Regions from separate parts of the Homo sapiens genome. Here all the other regions are linked to region 5. The links are contacts of gene promoters, found by promoter capture Hi-C in blood cells and fetal thymus (Javierre and others, 2016). All regions are on one chromosome and are shown on one strand. Each heading gives the region's core, a stretch centred on a gene start or on the middle of the fragment in contact. The rest is flanking DNA. Distances are from core to core; before and after follow the strand shown.

Evidence for each region. The method cuts DNA at HindIII sites, captures the fragments that hold promoters and counts their contacts. A CHiCAGO score of 5 or more calls a contact.
Region 1: a fragment that was not itself captured here is called in contact with the fragment with the promoter of ZNF350 in region 5 in 1 of 17 cell types (activated CD4 T cells); the score reaches 7.8 in activated CD4 T cells.
Region 2: a fragment that was not itself captured here is called in contact with the fragment with the promoter of ZNF350 in region 5 in 3 of 17 cell types (total CD8 T cells, non-activated CD4 T cells and activated CD4 T cells); the score reaches 8.4 in total CD8 T cells.
Region 3: a contact is called between a fragment that was not itself captured here and the fragment with the promoter of ZNF350 in region 5, in 1 of 17 cell types (non-activated CD4 T cells). The highest score is 6.3, in non-activated CD4 T cells.
Region 4: a fragment that was not itself captured here is called in contact with the fragment with the promoter of ZNF350 in region 5 in 2 of 17 cell types (non-activated CD4 T cells and total CD4 T cells); the score reaches 5.9 in non-activated CD4 T cells.
Region 6: a fragment that was not itself captured here is called in contact with the fragment with the promoter of ZNF350 in region 5 in 7 of 17 cell types (total CD4 T cells, non-activated CD4 T cells, total CD8 T cells and 4 more); the score reaches 14.0 in total CD4 T cells.

The regions. Positions count from the first base shown.
Region 1 is chr19:37,479,251-37,483,458 of GRCh38, reverse strand. The region is part of intron 4 of ZNF570 (zinc finger protein 570); the gene reads right to left. Among named protein-coding and RNA genes, the nearest start is that of ZNF570, 12 kb to the right of the region's middle. The HindIII fragment of the contact is 810 bases long and covers 1,522-2,331 here.
Region 2 is chr19:37,204,064-37,208,232 of GRCh38, reverse strand. It overlaps ZNF585B (zinc finger protein 585B), which reads left to right. Exons shown (of 5, transcript NM_152279.4): 2 at 979-1,193. The coding sequence starts at 1,122. Among named protein-coding and RNA genes, the nearest start is that of ZNF585B, 4.4 kb to the left of the region's middle. The HindIII fragment of the contact is 4,710 bases long and covers 1-4,169 here.
Region 3 is chr19:36,638,146-36,642,479 of GRCh38, reverse strand. It overlaps ZNF461 (zinc finger protein 461), which reads left to right. Exons shown (of 6, transcript NM_153257.5): 6 at 2,437-4,334. The coding sequence ends at 3,827. Among named protein-coding and RNA genes, the nearest start is that of ZNF461, 27 kb to the left of the region's middle. The HindIII fragment of the contact is 3,246 bases long and covers 88-3,333 here.
Region 4 is chr19:36,479,972-36,484,773 of GRCh38, reverse strand. All of the region lies in intron 1 of ZNF566 (zinc finger protein 566), which reads left to right. Among named protein-coding and RNA genes, the nearest start is that of ZNF566, 7.2 kb to the left of the region's middle. The HindIII fragment of the contact is 921 bases long and covers 1,262-2,182 here.
Region 5 is chr19:51,985,018-51,989,195 of GRCh38, reverse strand. It overlaps ZNF350 (zinc finger protein 350), which reads left to right and starts at 2,356. Exons shown (of 5, transcript NM_021632.4): 1 at 2,356-2,426. RefSeq lists enhancers at 2,190-2,429, 2,016-2,891. The HindIII fragment of the contact is 6,623 bases long and covers 1-2,891 here.
Region 6 is chr19:37,504,260-37,508,442 of GRCh38, reverse strand. It overlaps ZNF793-AS1 (ZNF793 antisense RNA 1), which reads left to right and starts at 1,356. Exons shown (of 3, transcript NR_110723.1): 1 at 1,356-1,604; 2 at 2,403-2,597. ZNF793 (zinc finger protein 793) reads right to left here and starts at 1,504. Exons shown (of 8, transcript NM_001013659.3): 1 at 1,477-1,504; 2 at 40-178. RefSeq lists enhancers at 1,288-1,437, 1,003-1,794, 1,795-2,586. The HindIII fragment of the contact is 826 bases long and covers 2,364-3,189 here.

The DNA of each region.
Region 1 (4,208 bases), core at 677-3,176, about 15 Mb after region 5:
TTTTCTTAGAAGAGACAGAAAATAAGTGATAAATAAGTAAATTTCATTTTATGTTAGAAGATACTACGTGCTTCAGAGAAAGAAAATCAGGGTAGGGGATGTCATGGATACTGATGAAATTAGAGCTAGGAATCATTAACAAGTTAACATTTAAGCAAAGATTTGAAGAAAGTGAAAAAGTCAGTCAGTCATTCAAGTCTCTGGGGAAAAAGCATTCAGGGAAGAGGCAGCAGCTGGTTCAAAGGCCCAAAACTAGAAGCATGTTTACTATGTCTGGGGAATATTAAGAAGGCCAGTGTGGCTATAGAGTGAGTAGTAGGATATAAAGTCAGGAGGTAAAAGGTAATGAGATTATTTAAGCTTCACCGGCCTTCTAAAGAATTTGGCTTCTACTCTGAGAGGGACGGTGTATTAGAACATTTTCACGTTGCTGTAAAGACACTACCTGAGACTGGGTAGTTTAATTGACTCACAGTTCTGCATGGCTGAGAAGGCCTCGGGAAACTTACAATCATGGCAGAAGATGAAGGGGAAGCACGCACCTTCTTTACAAGGTGGCAGGAGAGACAGAGAGAGGGAGAAAGGGGGGGAGGGGGAGAGAGAGAGAGAGAAAGAAAGAGAGAGAGAGAGAGAGAGAGAGAGAAAGCAGGGGAAACTGCCACTTTTAAACCATCAGGTCCCTTGAGAACTTCCTCACTATCATGAGAACAGCATGAGGTAAACTGCCCCCAAGATCCAATCACTTCCCACCAGGTCCCTCCCTCAACACATGGGGATTACAATTCAAGATGAGATTTGGATGGGGATCCAGAGCCAAACCGTAACAGATGGTAATACAGCTCCATCCAAATCTCGTGTTGAAATGTAATCCCCAATGTTGGAGGTGGGGCCTGGTGGGAGGTGACTGGATCGTGGGGGTGGAGTCCTCACGAATGGTTTAGTACCATCCTGTTGGTAGTGTCATGATAGCGAATTCTCATGAGATCTGGTCCTTTAAAAGTGTGTGGCACCTCCCCCATCTCTCATGCACTCCTGGCTTTTGCCAAGAGATGTGCCTGCTCTCTGTTCACCTTCTGCCATAATTGGAAGCTTCCTGAGACCTCCTCGGAGGAAGATGCCGCTATGCTTCCTGTACAGCCTGCAGAACTGACAGCCAGTTAAACCTCTTTTCGTAGAAATTACCCAGTCTCAGGTATTATATTTCATTATAGCAGTGCAATGGCCTAACACAGATGGAGACCCATTGAAGTGGTTTGAGTAGAGGAGTAATAGCTGGTTGCTATTCCATGAAATCACCACAAAATGTGGTATATACGTACAATAGATTATTCAGCCTTAAACGAGGAGGAAATTCTGACATATGCTATAATACAGATATAACTTGAGGACATTACAGTAAGTGAAATAAGCCAGTCACAAAAGGACAAATACTGTATGATTCCACTTATATGAGGTACCTAAAGTAGTCTGGCAATACAGCAGACTAGTTATAATGACAAATCTTCCTGGTACAAAAAAGCTTACAATTTTGTAGAAATAGAAAAACTTTCTTTTAGCTGCATTACCAAGCTGGCAAGAAATTAAGGTAAACTCTCAGAGGTCAAACAGACTGTGGAAGGCACTTTCAAGTAAGTAAGGTGGAACTGAAGCTGGGAGCATCAATTTATCCCTGGTGAGTCTGGTCTTAGGCACATGTAACTGGAGTTTTAAGAAAAATAAACACAGAGAATGGGAAAGTGACAATATGTGAAGAGATAATAGCTGATAATTACCCAGAGTCCATTAATGGTCAGATAAAAAAAATCACAATAAATCCCAACTACAGCAGCTGAAATTTACATCTAGATACATCACATTGAAAATACAGAATAACCAGGGCAAGAAGAAGAAAGTTCTTAAAAGTTGCAAGGAAGAATATATTAATGAAAACTGACTTCTCAAAAGCAAGAACAGAAGCCAGAAAAGCATGGAATGGTATCTTTAAAGCACTCATAAAAATAATCTGTCACCGGGCACAATGGCTCACGCCTGTAATCCCAGCACTTTGGGAGGCTGAGGCGGGCAGATCACGAGCTCAGGAGTTTGAGACCAGCCTGGCCAACATAGTGAAACCCCCATCTCTACTAAAAATACAAAAAATTAGCCAGGCGTGGTGGCACGCCCTGTAATCCCAGCTACTCGGGAGGCTGAGGCAGGAGAATTGCTTGAACGCGGGTTGGGGAGGTTGCGGTGAGCCGAGATTGCACCACTGCACTCCAGCCCGGGTGACAGTGCAAGACTCCATCTCAAAAAAAAAAAAAATCTGTCAATCTATGACTGACAGAGAAAGCTTCTTCTATGCATGACAGCAAAACTATCATATAAATGAACAAAACATAACAACAATAAAAGTTGATATGAATAGTATATAAATATTTATAAAGAAGTTACTTCAGGAAAAAGTTCTGGGACAGAATGGTGAACAGGGAAAATGACAAACATGGATAATTTTTTGTTTTGTTTTTTTTTTTGAGACAGAGCCTTGCTCTGTCACCTAGGCGGTAGTGCAGTGGCACGTTCTCAGCTCACTGTACCTTGAACTCCTGGGCTCAGGCGACCCTCCCACCTCAGCCTCCCAAGTAAATGGAACTACAGGCACACACCCCATACCCAGCTAATTTTCGCATTTTGTAGAGACGGGGTTTCACCATGCTGCCCAGGCTGGTCTCAAACTCCTAGACTGAAGTGATGCACCTGCCTTGGCCTCCCAAAGTGCTGGGATTACAGCCATAAGCCACCACACCTAGCCAAAAGTGGATAAATCTAAACAACACTAAATATAATATGGTCTAAATTAAATAAATATAATAATGGTCTATTATACAACTTCATAAAGCAAAATAATAATTTAAGAAAAGCAAGGAATAACTGAAATGAGGGTAAGTGAAGTTAAGACAGTCTAAGGTTCTTGGTGTTTTGTTTTGTTTTGTTTTTTGAGATGGAGTTTTGCTCTTGTTGCCCAGGCTGGAGTGCAGTGGCACGATCTTGGTTCACTGCAACCTCCACCTCCTGGGTTCAAGCGATTCTCCTGCCTCAGCCTCCCAAGTAGCTGGGACTGCAGGTGCATGCCACCACGCCCAGCTAATTTTTGTATTTTTAGTAGAGACGGGGTTTCACCATGTTAGCCAGGCTGGTCTCGATTTCTTGACCTCGTGATCCACCCGCCTCGGCCTCCCAAAGTGCTGGGATTACAGGCGTGAGCCACCGTGCCTGGCTACGTTCTTGTATTTTTAGTGGTCAAATATAAAGATTAGAATTAATTTTAGGTTTTGTTAAGGTGACTATAAATGTTAGATTTTCTAAGGTAACCAGTACAGAATAGAAATAGATTGTAAAACATTCAAATTAGGAGATGGAGAAAAACCAAGAAATAAGAAAAATTTGAAAAGGCACAATTTATAAAAGAAAGTGAGGTAGTGGAAAATAAATCCAAATCTATTAATAGTACCAAAAAATTTAACTGACCACCACCATCATTTGGTTAAAAGATAAAGGTTATCAGACTGGATTTTAAAAAATGTTTATCCAAATACTGCTTATAAGAGAAACACACAGCAAGCCGGAGAATAAAGGAGTAGGAAAAAACTACATCAAGTAAATATTAACAAAAGGCAAATATAGCTATAACAATATTAAGTGAATTCTTTTTGCTTAATCAGATAGTCACTAGAATTAAAGAGAGTAACAATAATATAAGAATTCACTAGAAAAATAAAACATTCTAAAAACATATGACCAAATGAAATACCTTCAAAATATAAAAAAAACTGCTGTTACAATTACAAGAAAAAAATTTATGTATTTACCACCAGAGTAGAAGTTTCTTTAACATGTCTCTCAGTAATTGATGGCTCAAAGACATTTTTTTTAAATTCATAAGGACACAGAAGATTTGACCAGCACAGTTAATGAGCTTAACCTAATGAGCAAATATCAAACACTGTATTCAACAACCAGAAAATACATATTATTTTCAAGGACACAAAGAATATTTACCAAAACTAGCCCTAAGAAATAAAGCAAGTCTCAAAATACTTTCAATAAATGTATATTGAAGAGATCCCATTCTCTAACCATAATACAATTAAACAAGTACCAAACAAAAGCCTTCAATTTCAAACTTCTAAATAATTCACGGATCAAGAAATCATTGAGAACCAGAAAAATAA
Region 2 (4,169 bases), core at 603-3,102, about 15 Mb after region 5:
TTGGGAGGCCGAGGCAGGCGGATCACAAGGTCAGGAGATCAAGATCATCCCAGCCAACATGGTGAAACCCTGACTCTACTAAAAATACAAAAATTAGCTGGGCGTGGTGTCGCATGCCTGTAGTCCCAGCTACTTGGGAGGCTGAGGCAGTAGAATCACTTGAACTCTGGAGGTGGAGGTTGCAGTGAGATGAGGTTGTGTCACTGCACTCCAGCCTGGCCACAGAGCGAGACCCCATCTTAAAAGAAAAAAATATTGTGTGAGGTGGAGATCTAGTTTGTTTTATTCCAGATGCATGGCCAATTGCATGCACCAATTGGGGATATGTATACAATGAATGCCGTGTGCACACTCAATCGCATATCATTTTTATTTCATATATAGATCAACATTGTCTGATATGTTTATTATCTTACTTGTTTTGATGACATGGTTTTCTGTATTACGTTTTAATATAGTGCATGGTAATTGCTGATATTTATTGCGTGATTCTTGCATGGCAGGGAGGCATTGAGTACTTTAAAAGCATAATCTCATTTAATCTTAGTAACTGTGACACAGGCATTTTCATCCTTATTTCTGAAACAAAATCTGAGTAACTTCTTTATATTCTCATTGTTGAAAAGTGGTACAGCTGCAGTTCAAATCTGCAGTAATGTTACTCTAAATTTCATGGCTTTTCCCATATTTCAGCACTGTTCTCCACAGTTCTGAAAGTGTGGTTCTTGTACCAGCAGCATCAGCATTTCCTGGGCACTTATTAGAAAATAAAATTCTTAGGGCCTACCTTAGACCCATCGAAGGGGTGAAGTTGAGAATTTTAAACTATGTTTTAACAAGCCCTCCAGGTGACTTGAATGCATACCTACGTTTGGGAACCACTGCTCTGGTTTCTAGCGCAGGGACCTGCACCTTGGTGTATCCAGGAAGTGTTTATGTAGTGAATGTTGAATGACTACGTGGACATTGTTTTTCTAGGTTCTTGGGTGTCTCTGGGGAGTCCCTGGGCCAGACCTTCCTCCAGACTCCAGCCCACCTCTTCGGAGCAGCTCTGCTGAGTTCACAGATGACCACTAAACTTCAGGCACCCTAGACAAAAAGGGTTGAGATCCAGTGTGGCCATGCCAGCTAGTTGGACCTCACCCCAGAAATCCTCAGCCCTGGCTCCAGAGGATCATGGCAGCTCCTATGAGGTGAGGAGGAGGAGTCCCAAGGGGTGGAATTTCAGTCCAAGAGTAGATAGCTCTAATCTGTCACCACAGCCTTAGGGCAGAGGCAGACAGGCCTTAGGAACCAGCTGGACTCTAGACTTGGTGCTCCTGAAAGAAAACTTGATCTTCCTGTCAAGAATGAACACGTGGGTAATGTCTCCGTCTCTGGAGGCCACCTGTGTGACAGTGGAGAGGTGCACTGTCAAGGAAAACTGTTGTTGATTTTGTCATCACGCTATATTGATGTTTTGGCTGCAAATAGAATTCCTTGTTAGAAGTGACTTTTGTTTGAGATTTTGAAAGCATTTTTTCATTTCTTCCTAAACCACCTCCTCAAACACAAATGTTTTCTCTGTTTTCTTTCTGAAACTTGTTTTTCAGATGTTGCTTCTCCATTTCTTTTCTCTACTATTTTCTATGTATTTCCTGCTATCCATTCTGGGTAACTTTGACACCTTTTGCCTTCCAGCCCTTCTATTGAGCTTCTCATTACCACTATCCACATTTTAACTTAATGTTTTAATTTTTAAAAACTCTAGTTTGTTTCCTAAAATTTTTTTTTTTTTTTTTGAAACAGAGTTTTGCTCTCATTGCCCAGGCTGGAGTACAATGGCATGATCTCGGCTCACTGCAACCTCCGCCTCCTGGGTTCAAGAGATTCTCCTGCCTCAGCCTCTCAAATAGCTGGGACTACAGGCATGTGCCACCTCGTTCGGCTAATTTTGTATTTTTAGTAGAGACGGGGTTTCTCCGTGTTGATCAGGCTGATCTCGAACTCCTGATCTCAGGTGATCTGCCCACCTCAGCCTCCCAAAGTGCTGGGATTACAGGCATGAGCCACTGTTCCCAGCCTGTTTCCTAAATTTTTTTTTATTGCCATCCCGTTCTTATTTCATGGATGTAATGTTATTTTTTAAATTATTTATTTATTTATTTATTTATTGATGGAGTTTTGCTCTTGTTGCCTAGGCTGGAGTGCAATGGCATGATCTCCGCTCACTGCAACCTCTGCCATCCAGGTTCAAGCAATTCTCCTGCCCCAGCCTCCTGAGTAGCTGAGATTACAGGTGCGAGCCACCACGCCTGGCTAATTTTTGTATTTTTAGTAGAGATGGTGTTTCACCATCTGGGCCACGCTGGTCTCGAACTCCTGACCCTCAGGTGATCCACCTGCTTCGGCCTCCCAAAGTGCTGGGATTACAGGTGTGAGACACCATGCCCGGCCTGGGTGTATTGTTATTTCTTATCCATCTGAAGATATTGTGATAATTTATTAGGAATAGTTTAATCTTTTGAATAGGCAATGCATATACCTAGTTCAAAAGTTAGAAATATATGAAAAGCAATATATTGAAAAGTATTATGGTGAAAGAGATGGGACTGTGGTTCACCCACCTCTGCCTTCCATCTACCTGTGTCTCCCGGTAGTGATAACCTGCTTTATTCATTTTCTTTGATTGCTTAGTTCTGTATACAAATGAAAACAACTACAATTTTTTTCTCTTGATTTCAGAATGGCATAGCAGATTAACTTTTTTGTACATTGCTGTTTTAATGTTTGTTTGGTAAAATACAGAAACTATTATGAACAATATCGCAGTGGATATTGTCATGCCTTCTCTTTCTATTGGATATATTAGAAGTAGTGGAATTTCATTTCAGGGTTCTAGTCACGTGGTGAGAGTCTCATCTGCACCTCAGTGAACCTCTACTTTAGTTGCTCTTGGGCAGTTTTAGGATTGAGTATCTTAATAATTTTATTCTAGAAGATAGGAAGGATAGCTTGAGGCTAAAGTTACAGTTGGTAAAGCAGCAGCAGTTGGCTGGGCACGGTCGTTCACACCTGTAATCCCAACACTGGAAAGCCAGGGTGGGAGGATGGCTTGAGGCCAGAAGTTCAAGACCAGCCCTGGCAATGTAGTGATTCCCTGTCACTACCAAAAAAAAAATTTAATTAAATTAAAAATTAGTTTGGGCCTGGTGCGGTAGCTCACACTTATAATCCCAGCACTTTGGGAGGCTGAGGCAGGCAGATTGCCTGAGGTCAGGAGTTCGAGACCAGCCTAGCCAACATGGTGACGCCCCGTCTCTACTAAAAATAAAAAATATTTGTCAGGCATGGTGGCGTACGCCTGTAATCCCAGCTACTCAGGAGGCTGAGGCAGGAGAATCGCTTGAACCTAGGAGGCAGAGGTTGCAGGGAGCTGAGATTGCACCACTGCACTCCAGTCTGGGTGACAGAGTGAGCCTCTGTCTCAAAAAAAAAAAAAAGAAAAACAATTAGTCTGGCATGGTGCTGTGTGCCTATAGACCCACCTGCTCGGGAGGCTGAGGCAGGAGGATCACTTGAGCCTAAGAGTTCGAGATTACACCTAGCTATGAGCATGCCACTGCACTCCAGCCTGGATGAAAGAGATAGACTTTGTCTCAAAAGAAAAAAGCAGCAGTCTCTTGCATTAGGCAGAATAAGGAGACTTTTATTCACTTTTGTGGTTTGAAGAATGTTCTGATTTTTGTCTATGCTCAAATATAACGACAGAGTGGTCTTGGTATCATCTTACACCATGATGGTCAGAGATTGGTCTTGTTTGCTGTTGGTGTTCTAAGAGATTGTTTTTGTGTAGCACCATGGAGAACACCATGAATTAGCTGGCCCTTGCCAGGTTAGCTTCTAGCAACACTGAGGCTTAATTGATAGTACGAGGCTAACTCTCAGAGGTTAGGACTGCTTTTGTCCTCATTTAAAAATAAGAGAGTGAGCCAAAAGAAAGCTAGGGCTGCAATTTAGGAACAGATCAAAAGGGATTTAAGATGAAAATCACCTAAAGGGATGAAAACATGTTGTTCATCCTTATGAAAAGAATCATGTACAAAGAATTATACAAATTATTAGCATTTTTTTAATTAATAATGTATCTTTGAACTATTTTAAGTAAAAATGAACAGAAATCATTAAAT
Region 3 (4,334 bases), core at 461-2,960, about 15 Mb after region 5:
TTGAAACAGCTATGCTGGACACACCATGTAGAGAGACCACATAAGGATAGAAAGCCCCAGGCATCACAGCTGTTACAGTCCCAAGCTTTACATATTTCCTCAGGCCTGGTACCCGACATGTGGGTGGAGGAAGCCATTGGAATGATCCAGCCTGACCAGTGTGTGACTGTCACTAGAGAAATGCCAAGTAAGGAATGCCTGGCTGAGCTCAGTTAATCCTCAGGACTGAAAGACAATAATGATAAATGGGTCTGGTGTGGTGGCTCGTGCCTATAATCTCAGCACTTCGAGGGGCTGAGGCAGGAGAATCACTTGAAACCAGGAGTTCAAGACCGGCCTGGGCAACAAAGTGAGAGCCTTTTCTCTACAAAAAATGATTTAAAAATTAGCAGGGCATAGTGGCACACCCCTATAGTCTCAGCTTCTCCAAAAGCTGAGTGAGGTAGGAGGATTTCTTGAGCTCAGGAGGTCGGGCCTGCAGTGAGCTGTGATTGCACCACTGCGCTCACTCTCGCCTGGGTGACAGAGCATGACTTGGTCTTCACTAATAATTACAACAGCAATAGTAATAATAATAATAAATGACTTACTGTTTTAAGCCACTCAGTTGGAGTGGCTTGTTATAGATAAGCAAGTACATGGTTTATTTATGTATGTGTTTATATATAAAATCAGTGCAGTCGATGTAGGAGTGAATAGAAGCATGGAGAGATGTTCAGTAGTTATTACAAATTTAAGGGCATTAAATGATTATGATTGTCAATTGTTATCTTTGTATTGTTTCTCTTCATCTTAATTCCTTTTCCTTAATAATTCATTCATTCAGCAACTGATTATTGAATACTTATTATATTGTAAAGGTTGTTTTTATAGTGATTTCTCTATCCTTGAGTAGCTTTATGGGTAAAAAAACATATATATATATTATATATATATATATTTTGTTGTTTGTTTGTTTGTTTCTGAGACAGTCTTACTCTGTTGCCCAGGTTGGAGTGCAGTGGCATGATCTTGGCTCACTTCAGCCTCCACCTCCCGGTTCAAGCAATTCTCCTGTCTCAGCCTCCCGAGTAGCTGGGATTACAGGCATCCGCCACCACGTCCAGCTAATTTTTGTATTTTTAGTAGAGACAGGTTTCACCATGTTGGCCAGGCTGGTCTCCAATGCCTGACCTCAAGTGATCTACCCGCCTAGGTCTCCCAAAGTTCTGGGATTACAGGTATAAGCCACCATGCCTGGCCAAATATTAAAAAGATTAATAAATGAATATGTAATTCCAGTAGTACTTCAGGAAGGACTTCATTAGATAATATTATCAGGAATACAATTCTGAGGAAGTGACTTTTACTCTGAGACTTAGATGAAATGAAGCCCGCTATACAAAAAATCTAGGCAAAAAGATTCTTAGCACATGGAAGAAGCTATGAAGCTCTAACATAGGAAAAGGCTTTGGCATGTCCTAATTGTTGACAGATTAATTTGGTTATAGCTTAATGAATAAAAAGGAATTGGACTCAAAATGAGATTATATTGGTTAGCAGAAGCCCTATATTCTCATGCCTAGGAGCTGAAGTTTTAAAATTTCTGTGGGAAGCTGTATTTGTAGGTTAAGCTGCTTGTGACAGAGACCCAGAACAATAGCGATTGAAACCATATAGATGTTTAAATTAATTTTCTTTTTTTGATACAATGTCTATAACCCAGGCATATAAATTTAATTTTCTCTCGCATTAAAATCCAAGCTAGAAAGGTATCTACTCTGCAAAACCATTATTTGATAGACATGACAGCAAATCAATATTGCCATCAGCTTTGTTGAGGAAGAGGGAAAACAGGCAATATAGGGCGTGGGCCACCTGGCTCTTAACGAAAGAACTCAGATGGTATTACATAATATTTCTGTATTTCTTTAGGCAGAACCCAGTTGCATGGCATTCTCAGCTGTGAAAGAGCTTGGGAAATGCAGAGTTTATATTGGCAGCTTTATTCTCAAATAAAAAGCCATGGGTTCAATTGATATTTTTTAAAAAGGGAAAAAAATAGATATTTGGCAACAGCTGACAATCTGCTGCATAAACCTTTGGCCTGATAGTGTTAAACATATGAACTCTGACTCAGTTGACCTCATTCTAAGACCAACTCTCTTAGATTCTGATTGAGTTGATTTAGAATGTTTCCTGAACATCCATAATTGCAACAAACTCTCAAGGTAATTCAGAGGTGGATCAAAATTTCAGCACCATTGAATTATTTCCCTAATTAACTACTTCATTTGAGTGCTCTCATTTCCCTGTGCTCCTTTACCCATTTAAGAGTTCTCCAAGCCTTTTATTTCTTATATGAATTATTTGCAGTTATCTCTCATTGCTACCATAGATATTTTATTTCTCTTATAGTACAAAACCAGGAGTTAAAATATATTTCTTATCTTTCAGACTTGGCATCCAGAGATGAGCCCCAGAAGTTATCTCCAAAAAGGGATATTTATGAAACAGAATTATCCCAGTGGGTTAACATGGAAGAATTTAAAAGCCATAGTCCTGAGAGATCAATTTTCAGCGCTATCTGGGAAGGCAACTGTCATTTTGAGCAACATCAGGGACAAGAGGAGGGTTATTTTAGACAACTTATGATTAACCATGAAAACATGCCCATTTTTAGCCAACATACTTTACTCACTCAAGAATTTTATGATAGAGAGAAAATCTCTGAATGTAAAAAGTGTAGAAAAATCTTCAGTTACCATTTATTTTTTAGTCACCACAAAAGAACTCATTCTAAAGAACTTTCTGAATGTAAAGAATGCACAGAAATTGTTAATACACCATGCCTTTTTAAACAACAGACAATTCAAAATGGTGACAAATGCAATGAGTGTAAAGAATGTTGGAAGGCCTTTGTTCATTGCTCACAACTTAAACATCTAAGAATTCATAATGGTGAAAAACGCTATGAATGTAACGAATGTGGGAAGGCCTTTAATTATGGCTCAGAACTTACTCTACATCAAAGAATTCACACTGGTGAGAAACCTTATGAATGTAAAGAATGTGGGAAGGCCTTTAGACAGCGATCACAGCTTACTCAACATCAGAGACTTCATACTGGTGAAAAACCCTATGAATGTAAGCAATGTGGGAAGGCTTTTATTCGTGGCTTTCAACTTACTGAACACCTGCGACTCCATACTGGAGAGAAACCTTATGAATGTAAAGAATGTGGAAAGACTTTTAGGCATCGCTCACATCTTACTATACATCAGAGAATTCATACTGGTGAGAAACCCTATGAATGTCGGGAATGTGGGAAGGCCTTTAGCTATCACTCAAGCTTCTCACACCATCAGAAAATTCATTCTGGCAAGAAACCTTATGAATGTCATGAATGTGGGAAGGCTTTTTGTGATGGCTTACAACTAACCCTACATCAGAGGATTCATACTGGTGAGAAACCCTATGAGTGTAAGGAATGTGGGAAGACTTTTAGACAGTGTTCACACCTCAAAAGACATCAGAGAATTCATACTGGTGAGAAACCTCATGAATGCATGATATGTGGTAAGGCCTTTAGACTTCATTCACACCTTATTCAACATCAAAGAATTCATACTGGTGAGAAACCCTATGAATGTAAGGAATGTGGGAAGGCCTTTAGCTATCATTCAAGCTTCTCACACCATCAGAGAATTCATTCTGGAAAGAAACCTTATCAATGCGGGAAGGCGTTTAATCATAGATTACAACTTAACTTACATCAGACTCTTCATACTGGCGAGAAGCCAGTCAGGTTTCCTCTCCTCCCTCCCCATCCTAGTCTAGCATCATGAAATTTGTTGATGGAAATATACATTGTCTTTGTTTTATTTAAGGAAAAAGTTGGTAAGCCACCAGTTTCATTAGTATTTATTTATTTAAATAATCCTTGAAAATCAAATGTTTTTAAGTGAGAAAGTGGATAACTAAAGTGTAAATTTTGGTCTCATTTTAATGCTGTTTCTGAGTTATTGTATTAACCATTATTGAGAATAAATTTTTTTATTGAGAATAAATTTTCTAAAATTACATGTTTCACTGAAACCAGTGAAATATTTCACTGAAACAGTGAAATAAAATGAAAACAATTTCCTCCCTTCCCTCAAATCTCTGAGATAACCAGTATGTGTATTTCTTCTTCCTTTATGCTCAAACAACCTGTACACAGAAAGCATTTTTTGCATGTGTTTGGAGGAGCTTTTACCCCCATACAGACATTTGACAGCGTCTTGTCCTTTTCATAATAATCATGAATACTTTTCCAGGTCAGTACGTAAAGATGTAACCCATTCTTTGTAAGG
Region 4 (4,802 bases), core at 473-2,972, about 16 Mb after region 5:
ACTAAAAATACAAAAAATTAGCTGGGCATGGTGGTGGGCACCTGTAGTCCCAGCTATTCGGGAGGCTCTGGCAGGAGAATGGCGTTAACCCGGGAGGTGGAGTTTGCAGTGAGCTGAGATCGCGCCACTGCACCCCAGCCTGGGTGACAGAGCGAGACTCCATCTCAAAAAAAAAAAAAAAAAAAAGAAACTATGCCAAAATCCTATTTCTCATCATGTTTTCTCACGCATTAGTTTTAACATTCATTGATAATTTTTACCTGTAACAATTATTACTGTGATGTTTGCCTAGCGGTGATTTTCTCCTTCTATCATTTCTTACACTTTGATAATTTAAATTCTACTATAAGGAAGAGCTGTCTCTTCTTGCTCCTGTTAAAAGTGAACTAAATGTGGCCTGAGAAGGACTTTGTACTTCTATATTTGAGTCCTTATGGACGAACTGTAACCTAACAGGTAGACAGAATTGGAAACCTAACTTGTGTGCCTGTAACAGTGTATGTGCCTGTAACAAGCTGAGTCTTGGCTAATCCCAGCAGCAATACTTCAACCACTCATACACTGCTGAGTGTTCAAACTGTGTTAAGTAAGGCAAACACTGTCTGGGCACAGAGGCTGGCGCCTGTAATCTCAGCACATTGGGAAGCCGAGGCAGGCGGATCACCTGAGGTCAGGAGTTGGAGACCAGCCTGACCAACATGGTGAAACCCCATTTCTACTAAAAATACAAAAAATTAGCCAGGTGTGGTGGAGTGCACCTGTAATCCCAGCTACTCAGGAGGCTGACACAGGAGAATTGCAGTGAGCTGAGATCGTGCCATTGCACTCTAGCTTAGGCAACAAGAGCAAAACTCCGTCTCAAAAAAAAAAGGCAAACAAGAACTTGTAACCAGTTGAGCTGTTTCTCCACCTCACTTCTGATTTTTGTATGTCACTTCCCTTTTTTTTGTCTATAAATTTGTTCTGACCACGAGGCATCCCTGGAGTGTCTCTGAATCTGCCGTGATTCTGGGGGCTGCCTGATTTGCGAATCGTTCATTGTTCAATGAAACTCCTTTACATTTAATTCAGCTGAAGTTTTTCTTTTGTCCCCATTTGTTTATTCAATTATTTACCTATGGACTCATGGATATTTATTTTATTCTATTCTCTATTATTATTATTTATTTATTTTGCTGTTCAAATTTTCCCATATTTGGCCATCAGAAGCTCCTTAAGTTGGCTCTTGTGTCTTTTCAACGTGTGATCATTTTTTAAAGCTTCCCCCCAACCCCGCTTTCTGGGACATAAGATGTTCCAGGTTCATCTTGTATTTTCCCTCTTCCATCTCTGGGCTCAGCAATTTCTCCAAGCAGCATTAATTTCTTTTATTGGAGAATGAATTTATAAACCAAGATCTGGGCACTTGGTGTGCTTATTGCTACTGGTGTGTCTTTGCTCTGGTTCTGGTCAGTGGAGAGAGTGAGAAAATACACAAATGTCTACATGCACATTTATGTCTATTTATTTGTTTATATGTTAAAAACACACCAGTTTACACTCATATGTTTAATTCTATTCCAGTACCACAGGGTATTTTCTTTTCCCAAGAACTATGAACTATCTGAGATTTTACCCTAGTTGTAAGCTAGTAAGTTGGCTTGTCAGTTTCACAGATACGTTCAGAAAACATGAGACTTCTGAGTCTGAGACAAAGGATGCTTTGTTGCTCATGGCAATCTTCAGAATATCTACATTCTCATGGTACTGATTCAGTCATACACCCAGGATTATGCAAAATACACAGGTATCTGTGTGTTCCCTTGACCTTAGGAAACCTGAATTTTTTATAATGGATAGTTAGAATGCCTACCCTTTGCTGTAGAAGGAGACCGACTCTGTCTTCCAAGGCTGTTCACTGTATAAACAACTTGGTAAAATAGTGCAGAACAAAAACACTTAGTACCTCTTCTTGCAAGATACGCAGAAACATGCAAGACCCATGGAGAATTGTCTCCCATCAAATTTGGCCATTTCCTTGTTACTTCATTTTCCAACAGAGAGAAACCTGCTTCTCAGAATCAATAATTAGCTCTATCCTAGAATACATGCAAATTAGTTCAGAGTTGCCAACCTGGACCTGTGTAAAAAGTATTTAGTAACTACAGTAGAGAATCTCTGTGTAGCTCTTTTTCTTTAAGCTTATAGTATATAGTAAACAAACATCTTCCAAAGTTACTCAATTTAGTTCTTTTCTTTGCCACTCTTTTCAGTATGTTTTTTTTTTTTCTTACATTTTTCTTACATTTAAGGATCATTTGTTGCATTTTGGGTTCCCCCACATCCTGGTTGATTGTAGCAGGCTACACTATTTTGAATGTGAAAACATTCGCAGGGGACAGTGGCTCACTCCTGTAATCCCAACACTTTGGGAGGCCGAGGCCGGCGAATCACGAGGTCAGGAGATCAAGACCATCCTGGCTAACACGGTGAAACCCCGTCTCTACTAAAAATACAAAAAATTAGCCGGGCGTGGTGGCGGGCGCCTGTAGTCCCAGCTACTGGAGAGGCTGAGGCAGGAGAATGGCGTGAACCTGGGAGGCGGAGCTTGCAGTGAGCCGAGATCGCGCCACTGCACTCCAGCCTGGGCGACAGAGCGAGACTCCGTCTCAAAATAAATAAATAAATAAATAAAAATTAACTTAGTTCCCACAGACTCCTTGTATATATTCAACTTCATTCGTTTCTGCTTTATCCTTGCTGTGTTTCTTTTGCACAAATGAAGAGTTACCTATATTCTTTTTACATTAAAGATAGCATTCTCTAGGCACTCTTTTGTACATTGTTTCTTTCTCTTAATGATACATTCTGGATAACACTCAGGCAGTTAAAGAGATATTCATAATTCTTTTCTAATTGTTACATAATACTGCAGCCTGTGGATTTATCATAGTTTATTGAACCGCTTTCCTACGTATGGATATTTAGGTCATTTACAATATTTTGTTACTAGAAACAGTGCTGCAATAACCTTGTATATATGTATTTTTCTATTGCTGGAGGAGTATCTTTAGGGTAGATTCCTAGAAGCGGTATTGCTGGGTCAAAAGGTAAGTGCTTTGTAGTTTTGTTAAGTATTGCAAAATTCCTCTCTAGAACTGTTGTACCAGTTTTTATTCCTACTTGCTGTGTATGAGCATGTCTGTTTCCCTTCACAGCCCACCTAACAGAATATGTTGTCATGTTTTTTAGTTTTCACCAGTCTAATAGATGAGAAATAGTACCTCAGTGTTCTTTTCTTTTTTTTTTTTTTTTTTTTTTCCCGAGACAGTGTCTTGCTCTGTTGCCGGGGCTGGAGTGCAGTGGCGCGATCTCGGCTCACTGCAACCTCCGCCTCCTGGGTTCAAGTGATTCTCCTGCCTCAGCCTCCTGAGTAGCTGGGACTACAGGCGCGTGCCGCCACGCCCAGCTAATTTTTGTATTTTTGGTAGAGATGGGGTTCCACCATGTTGGCCAGGCTGGTCCCAAATTCCTGACCTCAGGTGATCCACCAGACTCGGCCTCCCAAAGTGCTGAGATTACAGGTATGAGCCCCTGTGCCCAGCCCTCATTGTTGTTTTCTTATTTCTCTCATTATGAGTGTGTTTGAACATTTCAGAGTCTTTTAAAAGATTGCCTGTTTATGTCTTTCCCCATTTTTGTAGCAGATATTTATTTAGTACTTTGTCTTTTATGACTAGTGCTTTTTTTTGAAACGAAGTCTCACTCTTGTTGCCCAGGCCGGAGTTCAGTGGTGTGATCTCAGCTTACTGCAACCTCTGTCTCCTGGGTTCAAGCGATTTTCCTGCCTCAGCCTCCTGAGTAGCTGGGATTACAGGCGTCTGCCACCATGCCCGGCTAATTTTTTTTGTATTTTTAGTAGAGACAGCATTTCAACATGTTGGCCAGGCTGGTCTCGAACTCCTGACCTCAGGTGTTCCGCCTGCCTTGGTGGGCCTTGGCCTCCCAAAGTGCTGGGATTACAGGCATAAGCCACCACGCCTGGCCCCGAAGCTTTTAAACATTCACATTCACACTTAAGTCTGTGATCCCTCTTAAATTAATTCTTATGTATGGGGTAAAGGTTAATTTTTTTTTTTCCAGTTGGGTGCCTAGTTGTTTCAGCACTGTTTATTGAAAAGATTGTCCTTGCCCATCTAAACTGCATGGAGGCTGGGCAAGGTGGCTCACGCCTGTAATCCCAGCACTTTGGGAGGCCGAGGCAGGCAGATCACCTGAGGTCAGGAATTTGAGACCAGCCTGGCCAACATGGTGAAACCCTGTCTCCACTAAAAATACAAAAATTAGCCGGGTGTGGTGGCAGCCACCTGTAATCCCAGCTACTCCAGAGGCTGAGGCAGGAGAATTGCTTGAACCTGGGAGGCAGAGGTTACAGTAAACCAAGATCTTGCCACTGCACTCCAGCCTGCGTGACAGAGTGAGACTCTGTCTCAAAAAAAAAAAAAAGAAAAAAAAATTGCATGGAGTCTTTGTCATAAATCAGGTGACAGTATATACATGTGGTTATGTGGCTCTCTTTCTGGACTCTATATTCTATTTGGTTTTATTGTTTTGTCTGTACTGCTGTCTTGAAATCTGTAGTTTTAGTCCTCCTACTTTTTTTCTTTTCCAAGCTATCTCGGCTATTATAAGCTCTTCTAATTTCCAAATAAATGTTAGAATCAACTTGCTAATTTTTACCTTATTCCCCCCAAAGCCTTGCTGGGGTTTTCTTTACAAATATATGTGTTCATTTTGGGGCCTGATGCAGTGGCTCACACCTG
Region 5 (4,178 bases), core at 1,107-3,606:
CTTGTGGGGACGACCATGAAGTGGAAACGCATGTGAATGTCCGTGTTCAGGGGTTTTATTTCAGTTTAGTCACCGAGGAATATGGGTGTGAGAAAGAGACCCTTGGGATGTCAAAGGTTAAGGCTTAGTTTTAAGAGTTTAATGACTGAGGGTCCCACGGACAGAGCTTGAGGTCTATATGTTCACTTTTCATGAGTCTCAGTAATAGAAAACTGGGGAAAGTGTGTCTCAGTGAATGCTGTTTTTTGCTCAGATTTGCAATTTAATATGGGGCTCAGATACAGAGAAGCCCGAGCTAGGAAGAGGAGTGGCGTGAATGAAAGGTCTAGGGGGAGGAGTGTCAAAGGAGTGCCTCTGTGGTAAGTTTTAAATTGAATTTGAAGGCAATTTTATTTAGAGGAAGACGGGGCTTGTCTGTGTTTGAGAATGTAATGAGGCTGGAGGCTTTCAGGTGTGCAGTTGAAGGTTAGTGGTTGCTTTGAGACTAACTGGATGCTGGAAACACTTCCTGTCAGTCTTTCAAGTCCAAATCTGTCCTGAAGGTTTCTATTTAAAAACTTTTTCTTCCTAGGTCCACTATTCTCATTGTACCCATAAAAATCAGAGTAATTCAGGGTGACGAAGTGGTGTCTTTACCGAGGAGTCTTGCTCTGTCGCCCAGGCTGGGGTGCAGTGGCGCGATCTCGGCTTACTGCAACCTCCGCCTCCCGGATTCAAGCGATTCTCCTGCCTCAGGCTCCCGAGTAGCTGGGATTACAGGCGCGCGCCACCGCGTCCGGGTAATTTTTGTATTTTTAGTAGAGACTGGTTTCGCTTTGTTGGCCAGGCTGGTCTGGAACTCCTGACCTCAGATGATCCGCCTGCCTCGGCCTCCCAAAGTGCTGGGATTACAGGTGTGAGCCACCGTGCCCCACTTCACTTTCTTAAATGTTGTGTTTAGAAGCACAAACTTAAAAAAAAATCAAGTCCACTTTATTAATTTTATTTTGTTTTGTGGGTCATCCTTTACTCTCCTCTCAGAATTAACTCACGTCCATGAGGATTATCTCCCTTTTCCTTCTCTAAGTTTTATACTTTCTCTTAAACTTAGATCTATGATCTATTTTGAGTTAACTTTTGTGTATGGTTTGAGGGTCCTAACTCATTTTTCTGGATGTGGATATCCAATTATCCCAGTGCCGCTTGTTGAAAAGACTATTCTTATTGAATTGTCTTGGCACTTTTGTCAAAAACTCTTAACAATATTTTTATACTCTCAATTCTGGCTCTGCTCTTCCCATTGGCACCTTTACTAAAAGTGGCCTTTCTAGGAGGCCCAATTCCTTTAGTCTGTCGTGGCCAGGCTCACATCGTAATTCATTCTCAAAATCTCTTTTCTCTCCTCTCCTCTCCTCTTTTCTCTTCTTTTCTCCTCTTTTCTCTTCCTTCTCCTCCTCCTCTTCCTCCTTCTTCTTCTTCTTTTTTGTAAATAATAATCATTTTTTCGAGGCCAGGCGCGGTGGCTCACACCTGTAATCCCAGCACTTTGGGAGGCCGAGACAGGCAGATCACGAGGTCAGGAGGTCGAGATCATCTTGGCCAACATGGTGAAAGCCAGTCTCTACTAAAAATACAAAAATTAGCTGGGCGTGGTGGCGCGTGCCTGTAGTCCCAGCTACTTGGGAGGCTAAGGCAGGAGAATCGCTTGAACCAGGGAGGCAGAGGTTGCAGTGAGCCCAGATCTCGCCACTGCACTCCAGCCTGGCGACAGAGCAAGACTCCGTCTCAAAAAAAATTATAATTTTTTTCTTTCTTCACCACCCGCCCCCCCGAATACCTGCTATTTTTCTGTTCTTAAAAACCGCTTCCTGCAAGCTAATTTTCGCCAGACGCTTTCCCGTGGGTGTCTGCCTACCTGATGTGTTGCCTTTTCCCTTTCTACCTGATCTGTTACCTTTTCCATTTCCAATTCATTCTCTGGGATACCTACACCTGGCTGCACTGTTACTTGTCTTTTTCAAAACCTTTTTTTTTAAATTTAACAAAGTGGATGGAAAAGCGCTAAAGGCAATTTAGCTTGCCCCATATTTGCCTGATAAAGCCTGAGTCTCTGAAAATCTGCCCCCTTTCGCAAGACTTTAAGTGCCAGGAAACGAGGCGATTTCAGTGACTTCTCTTCTTCCCTGGCTCCTGGCTCAAAAACCTGCCACTGCCTTCTGTGCGTCCAATTTTCAAACATGGCTGCCGTCAGGAGCCACGGCTATGGGCGCGGCCATTTTACAGAGTAGGAAATGCCGTAAATGCGCTTGTCCTTGCTCTTTTAAACATTTTAGGTTCTCCTCGGCCGCCGTAGGTGGACCATAAACCCGTGCGAGGACTCCAGAAGTAGGAGCAGTTTACGGAAGTGTAACGTTGAGGCCCTTCTTGTGTATCTGGAGAAAATAGAGGTCAGTGTGTGGTTTTGTCCCTGAAAGTTTTTTGTCCTAGTTCAGGTTTTGTCTCAGTGGAAGGTTTGGGAGATCTGAGGACGTGGTGTACCCTGGACCACATAGTTTTTGGCAGGAAGACTGGGGAGCGCCGGGGTATAGGCATTTGGGAGGTACCTGGTGGGAGTCTGTGATCCCCCTGTCTGTGGTCCGCGTGCCTTTGGTGTGAGTACAGTGACTAAGGGTCTGTAGTGATCAACGGCCGTGTCCTAACTGTCAAGGTATGGATCACTCTGCTTGTAAAGGATGGAGGTGGCGATTAGGATCGATGCGGCGTCTGCTTCGGGTTCAGGATTTAATTTGGAACTCAGTGATGTTGGAGTCTGGGAGGATGTCCATCGCTGTAGAGTGTCTGGTCCGTGGTTCGGATGAGTAAGAGGCATGGGGCCAGTGTCTGTGGTACAAAGGCTTGTGAGGGCTGAAGCTTTCGAGACTTTGGAGCCCTGGGTCCTGGGTTGAGGTTCGAACCTCGGTTACTGGGGCAAAAGGCGACACAGCCCCCAGCATTAGTTCGAAACCATATATCTACTCTTCTGATCCTTGGGGTGGCTATTTACAGATCGGGGGGTCAAGTTCAGTCATACCCTCCGATTATATATTGTCTATGGCTGCAAAGGCAGCGGTTGAGTTGTTGTGACAGAGACCTCGTGGCCGGCAAAATCGAAAATGTTGCCAACCTCTGCATTCACTTCTTTTATTTTTTATTTATTTTTTTTATTTTTTGAGACGGAGTTTCACTTTTGTCTCCCAGACTGGAGTGCAATGGCGCGATCTCGGCTCACTGCAATCTCCGCCTCCCGGGTTCAAGCGATTCTCCTGCCTCAGCCTCCTGAGTAGCTGGGACTACAGGCCCACGCCACCACGCCCGGCTAGTTTTTGTATTTTTAGTAGAGACAGGGTTTTACCACGTTGGGCAGGTTGGTCTCGAACTCCTGACCTCAGGTGATCCGCCCACCTTGGCTTTCCAAAGTGCTGGGATTACAGGCGTGAGCCACCGCGCCCGGCCTTCACTTCTTAATATATAGTGAGTGTTGCTTGCCCGCCTTATATTCACACTTTCTTAACAGAATCTCCATTTCGTGAAGTATTCATCCCTGTGGCAAGGCGACCCAAATCCCAGTTTCTTAGTAAGGCCTTGTTGGTCTTAGCCAATCTTGCTGGTTCCAATTGCCATTGCTAGTGATAGGTTTGACATGGAAATGAGCTTAGGCGTATGGTGCAATTCTAGCCAACTATGTATGTGAAAATCTGCCTGGGAGTTTCTGAGGGAGCATTTTCTTTTTTAAATATGTAATTTCTTGAATCTCTTTTTCCATGTTCGTGATGATATCGCCTGAAAATAACATTAATTTTCTGTCTTACTTTGTAATGCTTATAATTCATTCTTATCTTAATGCATTGGCTCAACTTTCCAGTATAAAGTAGGAAAATAGGGTGTTAGTGGACGTTCTTGTTTTATTACCCACCTGTAAAATTCACCCGTTGTGTTGTCTGGAGTTAACACCTTTCCTGGAGGTAAACTGTTTGGTATGGTTGATCTCTTCCTTTACTTTGTTAATTTTTCTACATTTATATATTTTAAATGTACAATTTAATTATCATGGAGGCAATATATGTATAAGCAGTCATTGCCCAGGTCAAGAAATAGAATATGGTCAGCACACCAGTGGTGTTCTGTGAGTCTTTTTCCATTCTCACACCGAAAAGTATTTT
Region 6 (4,183 bases), core at 1,527-4,026, about 14 Mb after region 5:
CCACTGCACACAGCCTACATTATCATTTTAGATACTTACTCAGTAAATTTGTTTTCTAACCACGGGCAAGGTCACATCCATCCCCGCTGTCACAGAGTCAGAATGGATTTCCAGAAACCAGCCTCACTCTTGGGATGCTGGCACAGATGCGTATGTCATTACCTTTGCCAGAAAGAGCCTTAAAGGAAACATTAGGAAAAAATATGCATTAGATCCCTAACAAGAATAGAAGCCACGTCTTTAGTAACATGTTACTTTAGATAAGTTTAGCACGCGATCCTTTCAAATTATTTTCATTATTGTAGAGAACAATAAAAAGGGTGTGGGTTCAAAAAAGAGTTTTCAGATGGGCCTTGGTGGAGAGGAACTGGCTGCTATTCAGCTAGGGAGTGTCACCTGAGTGAAATGTGTTCCCGCTATGCAGGCTTGCAGCCTCAAATCTGTGATTTTCCCATCCCCAATCTCCACATTTCAGGACCCTCAACACCAACCCCTATAAGTCTCCTAATCAGACACGCATAGTGCCCCCAATCACTGGCCTCCAATCTCCAACCCTCAGAGGTTTTCATAGTCACTGATATTCCCCTATGTTCAAATCTGACCAGGAGAGACTACAGGTCAGTAACTACAAAGAACACCGATCCGATCTGATTGCCAGTGAAATTACACAGCCCCCAATCATGAATCCACACTGATTGCCAATGATATCCCAACGACTGAGGATCAATTGTTGATTCTCACAGTCCCACTCCCACCCACAAGTGACAGTCCGAATCACTGAGCCTCATTGAGGCGTACCTTTAAGATAAGCACACTTGACTCTATTCTCCATTCCCTGATCTACAAAAGTCCAATCGTTAATACTCTCCGATCCTCCACCGATGATATGAAGTAAGTCTCAATCACCGATGGCCCAAAACATTTCTCCAAACATTCATCACCACTGACCTCCCTCATTTGAACCCCAAAGTTTCCACAATCACCAATTCCAGTACCCAAACTATTACTGCCCACAGAACTTAGAACCTCCGATCACTGATCCTCTCGGGCTCCGATCATTAACCTTAAAGATCTCTAAACCAGTGTCTGAAAAATCCCAACTGACCCCAGACCCATGAAGACCACTATTACTGACCCCATGCACCCTGAAAATCAAGACATTTCACAGAACTCGCATTTATTGATTCCCACACACTCCCAATCCATCTTCTTCAGAGACCGTGCCACTGACTCCCGCAAACCTCTGTCCGCCACCACTGAGGCCCCGCGAGGCTCAGACGCCGAATCTCTTAACCCTTCAGTTCCCTTGTCATTGACCCTCACGGGCACCCATAGCTGACCCAGTCGGCCACCGTAGTCGGCAGCTCACTATCCTCCACTAGTCCCAGGTTTGACCGTTTCTCAAACCGTGCCTTCCCATTTATGCTGCATCCGCGCCCTGAATCTGAAATTGGTCGTCCTGCCACGCCGCCTCACCGCGGTATAAGGTCGTCCCATCCTGAATGGCCGGTGCGCAGACTCAATTGCGACTTTGAGGCTGTCAGCCGCCACCCGGCAACCTTCCAGTGAACAGGATTCTGGGTTTCTCAAAGCTGTAATTGGAGGTATGATGGCGACGCCCACTTGACTCCTACCTGGGGCGGCCATGTTTAAAACTGTGCCGTAAAACGGATGATTAAGCCCTTTGCTAGACCAAAAGATAAGGCTATTTTAGGACAAGGAGAAGGAAGTGTCCCTGGATCCCTAAACAGAGATGTCGTCTCTGCTCTTAACTCAGCATCTCAGATGCCAAAACCTCCTGTGGCCAACATGGTGGCGCCCAGACATCAAAGCTGAGCTTTCTTTGTCTCCGGCAGCCTGGTAAGATGGCCGCGTACATTTTTACCGCTTCTTACGTGCAATGGGTGCAGCCTCTCCTAGGAGCTCCCCTATGGCAATGTGAAACTCTTTCTGAGCCAGCTCTAGGAGTTAGAGAGCAGCGAAGAGACTCGCTCTTAGGGAGACAGAGACAGCCTAAGGACGGGCGTGACTTCACGGAAAGGGCGGAGCCGCAAGGAAAGGGCGGGGCTGCCGCAGCGGGAAGAGATCAGAGTTCTTAGCGCATAATGGAAAGGAAATGTTGAAAGCAAGGTTTTTACCTAAGGAGGCTTGCCCGAGAAGCCGACCTGAGGAAAGAATGAGTGCAAGCAGTTTATTTGGTAGGTGGGGGATGGAGAAGTGAGACGGGAGCGATGGGAACGAATATACAGTGCATAGGTGAGCAGATTAGCTCTGGATCAATGAGGGCTCAGTCAGCTTGGGACCTCTGGGGGATTGTGTAGAAACCACTTCCAAGTTTTCACAACCACCAGGCCGATGAAGCTTACATATGTCTACACCATCTCTCTTCCTAATTGTTTTAGGGCCACTCCAGAGGTGTTAAAGCTCCAGCACTTCGAGCCTGCCTCGTGGGAAAGTCTTAGGCTGAGTCTGTAGGTGTCTGCAGTTAAGAAGCCAGCGGTCTGCATATGATTGCTCAGGGGTGGTGGCTGGGTCCAACAGCATTCACTACAGGCCTGCCTTGAATACCACCTAGCGCAGTGCTCCGCATATCACAGGTATTGGAACATCTCTAGAAAAGATTGCCTTGTCTTATGAAAATGGCTTTTTAAAAAAATCCTAATTCCAACTGGTCATCCTAGCAACTGATACAATAACTGACCTCAAAATGTTTCCCAATGATTCCTACCTCCTACTATTCACACTCTTATGTAGTTCCCTCCCACATTGTACCAGGGTTGGACTGTGAGACTAATAGAATGCAGTAGCAGTGATAGATGTCACTGCTGAGATTAAATATAATAAATGGCACCTTGAGTTCTGTCTTAAAGGCTGCTGCCCCCACTTTGAGAGAAGTTAGTTGCCATGTCATGAGGATACCGAGACAGCCTATGGAGAGGCCCAGGTAGCAAGGAACTAAGCCCTCCACCCAATAGCCTGGGAGTAGCTGGGGCCTTCCTATAACCAAGTGTATCACCCTTGGAAGCACATCTCCCAGCCCCAGTCAAACCTTGAGATGACAGCAGCCCCTGCCAATAGTTTGACTGCAACTGCGTGAGAGACACAGTCACAAGCACTCAGCTATAGCAGCTCCTATATTCCTCACCCTCAGAAAGTGTGTAAGATACTACATGTTTGTTGTTTTAAGCTTCTGAGTTTAGGGTAATTTGCTATGCATCAGTAGATAACTTCAATGCTGTGTTAAAATGCTACAATTGACATTTCTTCTTTTTTTTTTTTTTTGAGACGGAGTTTCGCTCTTGTTGCCTAGGCTGGAGTGCATTGGTGCAATTTCAGCTCACCGCAACCTCTGCCTCCCGGGTTCAAGCGATTCTCCTGCCTCAGCCTCCTGAGTAGCTGGGATTACAGGCATGCACCACCACGCCAGGCTAATTTTGTATTTTTAGTAGAGACGGGGTTTCTCCATGTTGGTCAGGCTGGTCTCGAACTCCCGACCTCAGGTGATCCGCCTGCCTCGACCTCCCAAAGTGCTGGGACTACAGGTGTGAGCCACCGCGCCCAACCCCATTTCTGAATTCTTTAAATAAAGTTCCTAAAGTTGCGAGATTATTCTGTCAGAGGAGATTATTACCAGTTTCCTCTTCTTCCTTGCGATGGAAAAATTAAAGGCCTATGGCTCTGCTAGATTTTTAAAATTTAACAAAGAGGTCAAGGGTCCTTGCTTCATTTGATTTAATATAAGTGGTTTATATGACAACACTTTGAAGTGATTATAGTAATTAATTTAAAATCACCATTTAGGCTGGGCATGGTAGCTCACACATGTAATTCCAGCACTTTGAGAAGCCAAGGTGGGCAGATCACCTGAGGTCAGGAGTTCAAGACCAACCCGGCCAACATGTTGGAACCCCGTCTCTACTAAAAATACAAAAATTAGCCGGCATGGTGGACGCCTATAATTCCAGCTGCTCGGGAGGCTGAGGTAGGAGAATCACTGAACCCAGGAGGTGGAGGTTTCAGTGGGCCAAGATTGTGCCATTGCACTCCAGCCTGGGTGAGACTCTGTCTCTAAAAAAACAAAAATAATAATATTGAAGTAAAATGAGTATTTATAAAGTGCCTATTAAATGCCTGATTGATCACTGGCCTGCTCACTTCAAGGGCTGTTCTTATTCTAGGATTA